2 separate regions of the Homo sapiens genome follow, and region 2 is linked to region 1. The links are contacts of gene promoters, found by promoter capture Hi-C in human tissues and cell types (Jung and others, 2019). All regions are on one chromosome and are shown on one strand. The core of a region is centred on a gene start or on the middle of the fragment in contact, and the rest is flanking DNA. Distances in the headings are between cores, read along the strand shown.

What was found. The method cuts DNA at HindIII sites, captures the fragments that hold promoters and counts their contacts. A contact is called where the count stands out against the background at its distance.
Region 2: the fragment with the promoter of ASB1 here is called in contact with the fragment with the promoter of HDAC4 in region 1 in 1 of the 25 tissues and cell types used here (adrenal gland).

The regions. Positions count from the first base shown.
Region 1 is chr2:239,396,961-239,402,674 of GRCh38, forward strand. HDAC4 (histone deacetylase 4) reads right to left here and starts at 4,060. Exons shown (of 27, transcript NM_001378414.1): 1 at 4,018-4,060. It overlaps HDAC4-AS1 (HDAC4 antisense RNA 1), which reads left to right and starts at 4,476. Exons shown (of 2, transcript NR_135575.1): 1 at 4,476-4,576; 2 at 5,115-5,397. RefSeq lists silencers at 3,709-3,878, 3,889-4,328, 4,349-4,468, 4,739-5,008 and an enhancer at 5,139-5,268. The HindIII fragment of the contact is 13,359 bases long and covers 377-5,714 here.
Region 2 is chr2:238,422,548-238,428,489 of GRCh38, forward strand. ASB1 (ankyrin repeat and SOCS box containing 1) reads left to right here and starts at 4,380. Exons shown (of 5, transcript NM_001040445.3): 1 at 4,380-4,572. The coding sequence starts at 4,524. LOC124908002 (a long non-coding RNA gene) reads right to left here and starts at 4,347. Exons shown (of 2, transcript XR_007088163.1): 1 at 1-4,347. RefSeq lists a cis regulatory region at 1-236, enhancers at 2,961-3,496, 5,009-5,128 and silencers at 3,829-4,218, 4,239-4,758. The HindIII fragment of the contact is 10,702 bases long and covers 1-5,942 here.

The DNA.
Region 1 (5,714 bases), core at 2,810-5,309:
ACATGATGTCTTCTAGTTCTGCAGTCCCACACGTGACATAAGACAGCATGAGAAAGCCAGAAGTACTGCCCAGACCTATGAAACGCGCCTGTAACAGCGCCAAGAACAGTCAACACAGCACTAGAAAGTCTAACGACACTGAACTAGAAAGGTATTCCAAATCGTCCTCTTCTCTAAGAGGCTGTGTTCGCCCAAGCACCTCGACAAGCTGAACTTCAGCTTCAAGGTCACCACCAGCCTAGAAGCAGAGGCACGGAGAGGAACTGGCCTTTGGGACTGGAGATGCAGGGGGTGGCACATGGTCCATTTCATTCTACCCCCAGTTCCTCCAGAGGTAGAGCCCACCTGCAGGACTGTGCTGACACCTACATGGTGAGTGCATGAAACAGCACGAGCCCCAAGCAGGTGCTCATCTGGCGTCAGCTACGGGAGCACGTGACAGCTGCTCGTGGCATCATCTCCTTGCTCCAGGATACATCCTCATCCCCCGACAGTGATACAGGAAGTCACGGTGGGGGCAATCTATGCAGGACCCCGACCTTCCTTCCAGGAAGTGAGTAGGAGGTGTGTCAGCAAGGCCACAGCAAGGGGACATGTAGGACCCTGACCCTCCTTCTAGGAAGTGAGTAGGAGGTTTGTCAGTGAGGCTGCAGCAAGGGGACATGGCCATTTAATGCTGCAGGCACCATGGCCCTCATGCCACCCCAAAACAGGTCCCACTCTTCCCACGCACAGAAGCCCAAGAGAAGAAAACTGACCGTATGAAGAGAACTTACTGACCTTAGTGACACTTGTTCCCACAGAAACGCTTATGAATGAGTTAAGGTCTGTTCAAAGGTAGCATCACTTTTGACATGGCACCCCTCATCTGACCTGAACCAGAAGGTGCAGTACCCGCCTCTAACGTCAAGGCCAAAAACCCAGAGCCCACCACACGGCAGGGCATATGCTGACCACCTGAAATCAAAACAAACACTCCCTCCAAATCCATCCTTTCCGACTCCTTACCCCAGGACAGACTGGGGGCTGCCAACAACAGGGCAGGGGCTCAGTCTCGGTTCCACAGCCCCAAGCTTAGGTGGAGACTGGGCCCCTTCGCCCTTCAGTTCCCCCATCCCCAGCTAGTCATCAATTCTGAGCCTCGGAGGAAAGCCCGGCCACAGCCTGTCGCCCCGCTGCCTCTCAGCAACGGCAGTTCTCTCGGCCTCTGCGGCTCCTTCGCGCCCTACATCAGGTATTAATATATTACTCATGGCAGCTTCTGAGCTATGAAAGCCCAGCCGTTTTCAATAGAGAATGGTATGGATGAATTCTACAGGAGTGATGAAATGTTTCTTCTGCTCCGGCAATTAAGACAGCATAAAGTCGCCTTTCCTTTGGTGCCACCCCCAACATTAAAGGATTGGAATTCAAAGCCATTCATGCTGCATTGAAACCTCACAATGAAGCTGGAGAATGGAAGTCGATTACTGGGCATAAATATGCAGTAGTTAAAAGGAAAGAGTTATAACAAAATTAAACTGCAGCAACCCCACAATGTGTGGAAACTTCCAGCACTAGAGTCCTCCTGGTAAACATCCATAGGGCATTCTTCTCAACGAGGTCTCTGGCCACAGAGTCCAGATGGGCTGCCTGAGCCGCACGTGGCCAGCGTGCCAGGTTGTCCTGTCCATCTTGCTACAGCAACAGCCCCCAAGGCCTCCGAGAATATGGCATTTGGGGATTTTTATTTTGCATGGCTAGGAAGCTGCTGAACACAGAACATTCTCTCTGGTGCAGGGCTCCGAGGCCACATCTGTCCTTCGTCCCTAGGCCTTCCAGGCCCATATGCAGTCCAGTCATCTTCCCTCCACCCCGTCCCCTTAGCCCAGGGCTCCCCCGGGGGCATGCCTGCTGCCAGCTCCCCTTGCAGGAGAAAGAACCCTAAAGAGGGCAGCGTTACATCTGCCTGCTGAGTACAGCCGGCTTCTTTTCTAATTGATTACTGCTCTCTTTAGGATGGGATTTGATCTCTAAAATAAAAGCCCAGAACACAGAAAGCTATAGAAGTCTTACAATGTGTTGGGGTGTGTGTTTTTAAGGCATGAAAATACTTCCCTCCCACACAAATGTGAGTTCTTCTGGGGAAAGATGCCACAGATCCCAGAGAGTAGAATATCTGGGAAAGCCCGATCAGTCTTAAAAATAGGTAATTGAACACAGATTTTAGAATTCACAAGAGCTACCTGAAAAAAAATTAAATTTCACATATTTTTGATATCCAAAACTCCATTCTGATGAAACTTCTAACTCGGTGGCATTTTGCATTTCCAATTATAATAGAGTAATTGTGTTGCCATAGTTACTGCAAAATTCTGCAATAACTTTTGTTGCTTTGTAACTGCTGTAGTGTATATTTGTGTACAAGCAGCTGAGTTTTCTTAATTCGATCTCCCTCCCTTCCACCCTCCCTCTCCCCAGCCACCACCACCACCTTTCCTGGCTAGGTCCTGAAACCACCACACCAGCCTTCTTTGGACAGTCCCGAAAATAATGCACAGAATTATCAGAAGCAATTAAAACTCCAGGCAACCACGATCATATTACAAAAGAAAAAGTGAAACCAGGTCAAGGTGCAAACCTGCCAGTATCCCCCCAGTCCTGCTGGGCTGGCGCTGGGCCAGGACTGTTTACAGGCTTACTCCCAGGCCTTAACTGCTTCGGTGATTTGTGGGAATAAACAGAAAAGCCTGAACAGAGAAAAACGGGGCGGCAAAGTGACTGCACAGGCCCTTTCCTCCCTCACGGAGAGCAAGCAGAACTGCTCTCAGCAAGCAATTAGGTAGGTCTCTACAGTCATGCAATTAGGATTTAGTGAAGAAAGTCATTAGTTTTAAAATAACTTAAGTTTAATTTCTGCAACGCTTTATTTGAAAACTGTGTCACAGCAGGTCAATTTACAACATGCAATAAAGAAAACACTCATATCAGCTGCCTCAAGTTATTACAAATTTTTGATGTGCATTAAATGAGTACACTGGGTTCCACCCCCGGCCTTTCCAACTGATACGCACGGTCTCCTCCTATAACAGTGTCAAATAATTCAACGCTCAATGTAAATACGAGATAATTTGCTTATGATTCCGTGGTGTGTTTTCGCAACGCCGGCAAACGCGGATCCCACCCCCGAGCGGGACCGGGCCCCGTCTCGGCCTGCTGGCGCCCTGCGGGCTGAGCCGAGCGGGTCCCGGGCAGCCCCCCGCCCTCCCGCGACCCCCCGGGCGCTCGCAGCGGCGACGACAAGCGCGGGGCCGCGGACCCCCGGCAGGGACGTTTTTCTGCAAACTCACAGCATTTGACAAAGTTACATAAACGGCGCCCGGCCGGCCCCGGCGCCCGCCCGCCCCCGCCCTCACTCCCGGCGGCCCGGAGCCCACCTGCTCGGGGGGCGCGGGCCCCGCACCGGGAGACGGCGCCGCTGCCTGCCGTGCCCACCCCCGCGCCCCCGCCCCGGCGGGCGAAGCCGCCTCGCGGCGCGGGTGGAAAGGTCCAGAAGGGGCCGGGCGGCCCTGGGGACCGGCGGGTCCCACGGCGCGCGGCCAGCGCTGGCCCCCGCCTCCCACGGCCGCGCGCGGGGCGGGTGTGGACCGGCGGCGTCCACCTGCCGCGGGCTCCAAGGCCTGCAGGCTGCGCGGGGCGCGGGGCGGGCGGCGGACAATGGCCCGCGGGCGCCGGGCCGGGGCTGCGCTTACCGCGGCGGGCGGCGGCGGCCGGCTCTAGCCCTGCTCCGGCGCTCCGCGCCGCATCTCCTCAGCCTGCGCCGCCACCCGCCGGCGCGCGGGCTCGGGCTCGGGCGGCGACAGCCGGGACGCGGCCACGGCGCCGCCGGGGGCCCAGGCTGGGAGGCTGTTCGGGCGGCGGCGGCGGCGGCGCGGGCGGGTGCGCGGGCTCGGGCTCGGGCTCGGGCGGCGGCGGGGACGGTGCTCCGCGGCGGCGGCCCCACAACCTCCCCTCCTCATTCACAAAAAATTGACCCACGTTGAACCATGATGCTTCTCCCCACTCCAGCGTCGAGCCAGGCGGCGATAGGCCACCCCGCACGCCCGTCAGCCGGCCCGGCCCCGCCCAGCCAGCCGGCGGCTCGCCAACCATTGGCTGCGGCAGCCTTGCGTCACCTCCCCTTGCGGGCCCCGCCCTCCCGCCTGGTTTCTAATGAAGAGCTCGTCAATTACGGCTCGGCCCCGCCTCCCGCCCGCCCGCCCCGGGCGCCTGGCCGGCCTTCCATTGGCCCGCTGAAACCTGCGCACAGCCCGTCTGCTCCCACCCCTCGCCCAGCGGCTGCTCAACCGCGGGGCCGGATGCCCTATGAGCGGCAGAGAGGCTCCACCCCTGCCCGCCTCCCCGCACGCGTCCTGGACCTCATTGGCTGCTGGAGCTGCCAATTCTAGAGGGTGGGGCGTACCAAAAGACGCTCCAGGCGCCAGCCGCTGGGTGCTTCGCGGTTGAGGAGGCGCAGGGACCGGGGGCCAGTAGTGGCCGTAAACACGGGCCCCGGCCGTGTCCGGTCGCACTCGGTAGCCCGCATGGCTGCCTAGCGGTCAGCACCGCATGTCTGCGAGCCTAATTCGCGCTTAGAGGGCACACAATGGGGTGCAGGCTAACGCGGGGAGCCGGCCAGGCCTCGCCGCGGCGTCCATCTTGGATACTGGCAGTGGGTCACGTGGTGCTGCGTGCGCACGGAGGCGCAGGGCGGCCCGGTCACTGAGTGCGCAGGCGCCGTGGGCCTCGCCCTGCCCCGCGGCGGGAACGCGGCCGTGAGGGTGTGGGGTGTAGGTCCGCCAGGCCTGCAACGGCTGCCGAGGGTCGTGGGATGCGCTCGCCGCGTCCCTGCTCAGGCGGAGGGAGCCCGGCCCGCCGCCAGGGTCTCGAGTCCGGGTCCAGGCAGGCGTGGAGGTGGCGGGAACGGCGCACCGCCCGGGTGGGCGTTGTTTTAAGGCCGCAGGGCTTGGGAGGCTTGTGTTGAGTTACAGGTCGGCCCGTAGATCCCCGGAAGCGCCTTTGGTTGCCAGCAGGTGTCGGCGAGGGTCTTCAGTGGCCACCCTCCTGGTGGTGATGTTTCCGTTTCTTTCCAACAGGAGTATGACAACTTTTCAACTTGAGTGCACACACTGTCCCCGGAATCCCGCGTTCCAGGGAGGAAGCGCCTTTGACAGCGCGCGCCGGTTCGTGGGGCCCGACGGCGTGGGCCTGTGGTTGCGGACCTGGCGGAGATGCGCGTTCGCTTCGATTGTAGGCCATTCCTTTTAGGAGCTGAGAAAGGATCCGTTTTTACAGCATTCTCGACCTGTGATTCTTGGTGGGGGAAACTAGTTATGTGGATAAAAATACAGTTAGCAAAATAAAAATGCCAATTTTACATTTCCTTAAATATCTCATTAATAATTAGAAAACTTTGGTCATTGCAAGAAATGCTTAGGCTAAACTTAGAAGGAAAGGAATGGTGAATTAGAGAACTTTAAAACAAGATACAGCTGAAGAAAAGGAGAGCAATTACGGGGTTTTGGAGACTTGGCTGCTGATGGAAACGGTGCACTATCTAATTTTCATGTAGAATGAAACAGGGTCTGTAGCTAGCTAACATCTAGATAAGATTCAGTATCATTTGACAGGATTCTCAAAAACATACAATCACGAGAAAATATTAAAACCTGCCTGTAAGTCTACCAAAGTTAGTT
Region 2 (5,942 bases), core at 3,130-5,629, 970 kb before region 1:
ATCTGGTGAGGGGGAGAGGTCCCCAGGACAGGGGTATGGGAGGGAGGGAGCCTCGTGCGCAGACCCCAGGGAGAGAGTGCTGGCCCTGGAGGGTCAGGTTCTAGGCAGGGCGCTTGGGAGCTGGAGGAGGGGAGGGAGGTTGGGGCTCTTCTCGGGAAGGGCCTCAGATGCCCAGGCTCCTCCAAGAGCCTATAGATGGGCATTCGGGACCGTGAAGGAGTCTGTGAGCCCGAGTGACAGAGACCAACTGGTATGGCAGGAAAAGTTCACCTGGCGGTAAGGAGGGCATGGTGAGGCCAGCCCAAAGACTCCAGCACTGCCGCAGGACAGGCGGGGAGCGGAGCTGAGGGCTGGGATAGGGTCTCCACTCACCCTGCTTTGAAAACTGGCAGCTCTGTGTTCTGAGGCCCACTCAGTGCTGGGCAAGCTGGGCTGTTGGTCCCGCTGTGGCCGAAGAGTCTCTAAAAACCTCCTGTCTCTGCTGCCAGTCCCTGCTCTGGGACTGAGATTTCCTCACCTCTGACTCCTCCCGCTGTGGCAGTGACCAGCACATGGTAGTTGCCTTCCACAGGTGCTGCCTGGAGAGACGCAGGCCCTGGTAGAGGATGCAGGGGCTCACTGAGCGCTGTGGCCTCCTGACACTAGTGGAGTTCTCGGTCACACCAAGGGAGGCAGCACAGCACCTGTGAGGGGGGCTGAAAGAGGGCACCCCCTTGGCAGGACTCCCAGGGCCCACACTGTCCTCTGCAGTCCCCACAGCTGGGCTTCCCGGTCCTCCCTGGGACCTCCACTGCCAGGCTAAACCACATCCAGGCAGAGGCCGACCTGGCTGGAAGAGGGAGGCTTCGAGGGCTGCAAGGAACATCACGGCCTGGGCCCTGCCCAGCCCCACCAGCCCCAAGCTGAGGGCCTGCTGGGACACTGCGTCTACCCCTGAGCCCTGCTCTGTTCCAAGCTGGGCAGAGAAGGTGGGCTCAGTTTAGGACAGGGTGGGGTGGGGTGGGAGGCTGGAGGTGGGCGTGGCTCCACTCAGCAAAGCCATGCCATAGCGTTAGCAGCCATGGCACCGATGCCCACTGTGTCCTGAGGCTCTCTCTGCCCCAGGAAGCCTGTGGCACATTCTATGGGATTTTGTGTCTTTACAAAGCCTGCAAAGTGGGTATTATCAGCCCGATTTGACAGGGAGGCAGCTGGTGCTCAGAGGAGTCACCCTGTCCTGGTGACTCAGCTGGAAGGATGTGGATCTGCCTCCCTAGCTTGGGGCAGACACCCTGACTCTCTGCAGGTGGGCTCCAAGGCCTGAGACAGGGTCTGCGGGGCAGGGGCTGGTAAAGATGTTTCCAGGGCAAAGCCTGGAGGGTCAGCGGGCTGCCCTCATCTCGTGGCCTCACCTGGTAAACCTTCAGATCCCCTGCTTCCTTCAAAGCAGGAGATCCTTCAAAGGGGAAGAGAGGGCTGGGCCTCCTGGGAGGAGACACCCCAAACACAGGCCCACAGGGCCTAGGATCAGGAGAGATTCCCATTTCTGGTCCCTGCCTGGGTGACATCTGCTGCCCAATTCCCGGAGACAGCTGTGGGGGTTAAGCGACAGCAGCACCAGCACACCCAGGCCCAGCAGGATCCTCACCAGCCTGCAGCTGTGGAGCTCATGTTTCCAGCCCCCCATATACCTGCCATGCTTCCAGAGGGGCCCCCAGTTCCCTGCAACAGGAAGGATGAGGGATGGGGGCCCCTTCTCAGACCTCCTGAACCAGAAAGTCCATTGTTGGACATTTTTGTTATAAAATGATGGTAATGAGCACTACTGTAGCTGAATCTCCCCCACATCTGATTATTTCCCTAGAATGAATGCCTGGAAGAGGCATTTCTGATCAAGGATTATTCATTCTTATGCTTTAGCTAGACTGCCAAATTTTCCACCACAAAGACTGGGCTAGGCTCCACAGAGGGGTCACTGGGGACACTTTGGGGGAGGCCTGAGCCTCCAGGAGGCAACAGGAAGCGACGGGTGATTTTAGGGGTGGGAAAACGGGAGGGAGCCACTGGGACCTGGAGGGGCAAGACAGCCCACTGCACTGGTCCTGTTGCTGCTGTGCTGGGCTGGGATGGCACTGGTAGGCACTGGTAAATCCCTGTTGCTTGTAGGTGATGGGACCCAAGTTGCTTCATCTCTAGCGGTCACTGAGTGTCCCTGTGTTGGTGGGTCTTTTGGGCTCAGAGGACCTGGAAGAAGAGGGACTCTGGAGAGGTGAGGTCAGAGGGGGAGACAGGCTGTAGGGCTGGACAGTCTGGATGTGATCCCAACTCAGCCACCTGTGGGCTATGTGGTTTTGGGCATAGCACCAGGCCCCCAGATCTCAGGGTCCTGAGAAATGGGGGTGATGGTATTGGCAGAGTGGCCAGCAATTGAGTGTCCTTCCCCCTCCAGCACTGCTGGCTCTGTGGACACTGCCCTGCACCATGTGGGCATTTAGGAGGCACGGAGGTGGGCATGTGAGGCCACCTCCCCGCTACAGACCACGTGCGGCCTCAGGTTCTTCTAAGAGGCAGGATCCCAAGGGCAACACGTGGCAGGGAAGGTGGAGGTGCAGGTGCAGGAGGGCCACTCTGCTCAGGGACTCAATACCTTGATGCAAAGGCTACCGACACGCAGAACGCTCACTGTGAGCCCACCGGGACCAGGCAGGCAGAGCAGCGGAGGCCCCCGGAGACGTGGCTCTCACCAGGCTGCACTTTAGAATCACCTGGGTGCTCTGAACCACCCAACACCCAACCCGCACCCCTGACTGACTGCACCGGAACCTCTTTTAAAAAATTCTTTAAAACAATTGTGGTAAAATATATAGAACATAAAACTTAACCTGCTTTAAATGCGCAGTTCAGTACTGTTAATGCACAATTCACATTGCTGTGTGACCCGTCTCCAAAACTTTTTCATCTTCCTCAACTGAAGCTCTGTCCCCATGAAAAACTAACTCCTCATTCCCCACTCCCCCAGCCCTTGGCAACCCCCATTCCGCTCCACCATTTCACTGCTCCAGGGACCTCAAATAATTGGAATCACACAGTACTGTATTTGTCTTTTTGTGGCTGGCTTATCTCACTCAGCATAACGTCTTCAAGGTCATCCGTGTTGTGACGTGTGTCAGGATTCCCTTCCTTTCTAAGGCTGAGTACGAATCCATTGTATGGACGGACAGCATTTCCTTTCTAAGGCTGAGTACGATTCCATTGTATGGATGGACGGCATTTCGTTTATCCATTCATCCATCCAACAACACGTGAGGCGGCTTCAGGCTTCGGAGTTGCTGAAGCTCCGAGTTCGGGATGTGCAGCTGTGGTGGAGCCAGGGGCTGGGCACACCCCTGGCTCCTGGCCTGGCAGCGTCATCATCGGAGTCACCTGTCCCTCATGCCAGTGGTGCTCTCTGCTGTCATCAAGACCAAACACCACTGTAGGAAGTACCCCCACTCCCGCCTCCAACCCCCACAGGGCCTGCCAGGTCTGCCCCCAGTGGGCCCCCTGGTGCATCTGGGCCACCCAGGGCCAGCCTCAGCAGGGGCACTCGCGGGGCTGCGCCTGCGGCTTCCCTTACTCCAGTCTGGAATGTTGTACACACGGATGAGCCAGCAGCTCACGCCCACGACTGCTGGGGTCTCCGGACTCCCTCATCAGCCTCCTGCTGTGCTGTGTACAAATCCTCCTCCTGCATGAGGCCCCGCTGTCTAACTCAGCAGGGGAGAATGGGAGGAGCCAAGGGAATCCGTGCTTTAGGACCAACACCAATACTCATGGTGGGACGACGCTGCGATATTTGAAGTTGGGAGTGTGCAAGAAATGTTACTCGGTTGTTCACGAATGCATTCATTTATTCAATGAACTTCGCGTCAGCCACTGGCTGTCATCAGTTACCGACCTGATTGAGGGCTTCATGGAAGGGATTTGGAGGAGCATTCATCTAAAACCACAGCACGCTGCGACGCTCAGCCCTGCAGTGGGCCCTCACCAGTCCCCGCGCCTCCGAATCCACCCTCCCGGGGCTGCTCGTGGCTAGCGGGGGGCACCTGCGGGGACCAAGCCAGCCCGGCCGAGGCCCGGGTCCCGCCCGCCACGGCCCTCGGGGCCCCGCCCACATCTGGCAGAAGCCACGCCCCGTCCGTGTGGGTGGGGACGGCCCGCCGGACCGAAATTCCCAGACTGCTGCCTCAGGCAACGGGCTTTCCGACTCCTTGGCTTCTTATGTGAGGAAACCACAGCGCGGCCGGCATCCAGAGAGTCGGTTAGCCGCGAAGTTCCCGCCGGACGAAGGGACCAGCCAGCGCCCTGCTAGACAGCGAGGCCGGAAGCGGAGGCGTGGCCCCTGCGCGGCCCCGGAAACCAGTGAGGCCGGCGCGCGCCCGCCGGAAGCCGCGACCCCGACGCGCCCCCCATTGCCCTCGGCGCCGGAAGTGGTCGCGGGTCGTTCTGCTTCCTGCCCGAGGGGCGTGCGCGGGTCAGGGGCGGCCGCGGAGGCGGAAGCATCCATGGCGGAGGGCGGCAGCCCAGACGGGCGGGCAGGGCCGGGCTCCGCAGGTAACGTGCGCGCGGCCACTGGGCCGCGGGGCGTGTGGGGATGGCGAAGGGCTGGCTCCGGCGTCCCTGCCGAGGTCCTGCGTCCTCGTCCCGGGCTGGCCGGGTCCACGGGGCAGCCAGGGAGCCGCACCCTGCAGGCCGGGGGTGGGGTTCAGCGCGGCTCGCAGTGCTGGGCGACCCCACCACGGACGCGCTGCCCTCTCCTCGGCCTCGAGTGCAGTCCCCGCGCTAGATTTTCTTTCCGGTGGAACTTGCTCGTAACTTCCTTCCCGTTAGCCGATACAGATTTGATATGACCCAACCGCAAAAGTAGGACGTGGGCCACCTTCCAGCTCTGAGCGCACGGATCAGGAAAGCCAGCCAGAGGGTAGCCCTAGGGAGGGCAGGCACTTTTTCACCATTCTGCCGCCCACGGCGTGTCCGGTGGTACAGCGGGGGGCAGCCTTCCCACCCACCACAGGCACAGACCAGGGACAACGGGGACGCCGTCTCCAGCGAGCTCGTCAGTGACACAACATGTCCAGGGGCCTTTGGCCCACCAGCAAGGGAGGCAGATAGAAAGGCTCACACCCACCTTCCAAAATAACTGTCCTACTTAGGGTCTCCACCTTGCAGTGTCCCTACCATGCAGATGTGAAGGAAGCGGTCAGGACAGGTTCCCGTTTCCCGGTGGTGTGGTGGGAGTTCCTTCTTGCTGGATTTCTGAGCTTGCCATTCGCGCCAATAGTTTCGTGTGTTCTGGGCTTTCTTTACATGCCTATATTTGTCTTTGGAGGGGTTCCTCTCCTACTTAGTAATAAACCAATACATTTCTTAAACATCTTAAAAGATTGACTTGGAGACTGGTGCAGATAGGCTTTTCCATCCATCCCTCCCTCTGCACCTCCTTCCAATCATTTAACAGACTTGTATTGAAGACCTGCTGTTGGCTAGACCCAGCAGAGGATACTGCAGTGACCAGAAAAAGCCAGACAAAGCATCTACCATCCTGGGCTTTGGTTGGCGTTGACTTTGACTTCAGAGACAGCCAGGACCTTAGGGTCTAGGATGTCATCTCATGTGAGAGTGAGAGACGGAATGATGCGTGTTCCGTGGGAAAAAGAGGACCAACAGCTACTTCCCAGTATAAAGAGAGTTCCTGGGGAATAAACACTGGCTTTGTCGGCTGCACAGGTCTCCTTTTTTTTTGAGACGGAGTTTCGCTCTTGTTGCCCAGGGTGGAGTGCAGTGGCGTGATCTCGGCCCACTGCAGCCTCCGCCTCGGGGGTTCAAGCGATGCTCTGGCCTCAGCCTCCCTAGTAGCTGGGATTACAGGTGCTGGCATCATGCCCGGCTAATTTTTGTATTTTAGTAGAGACGGGGCTTCACCA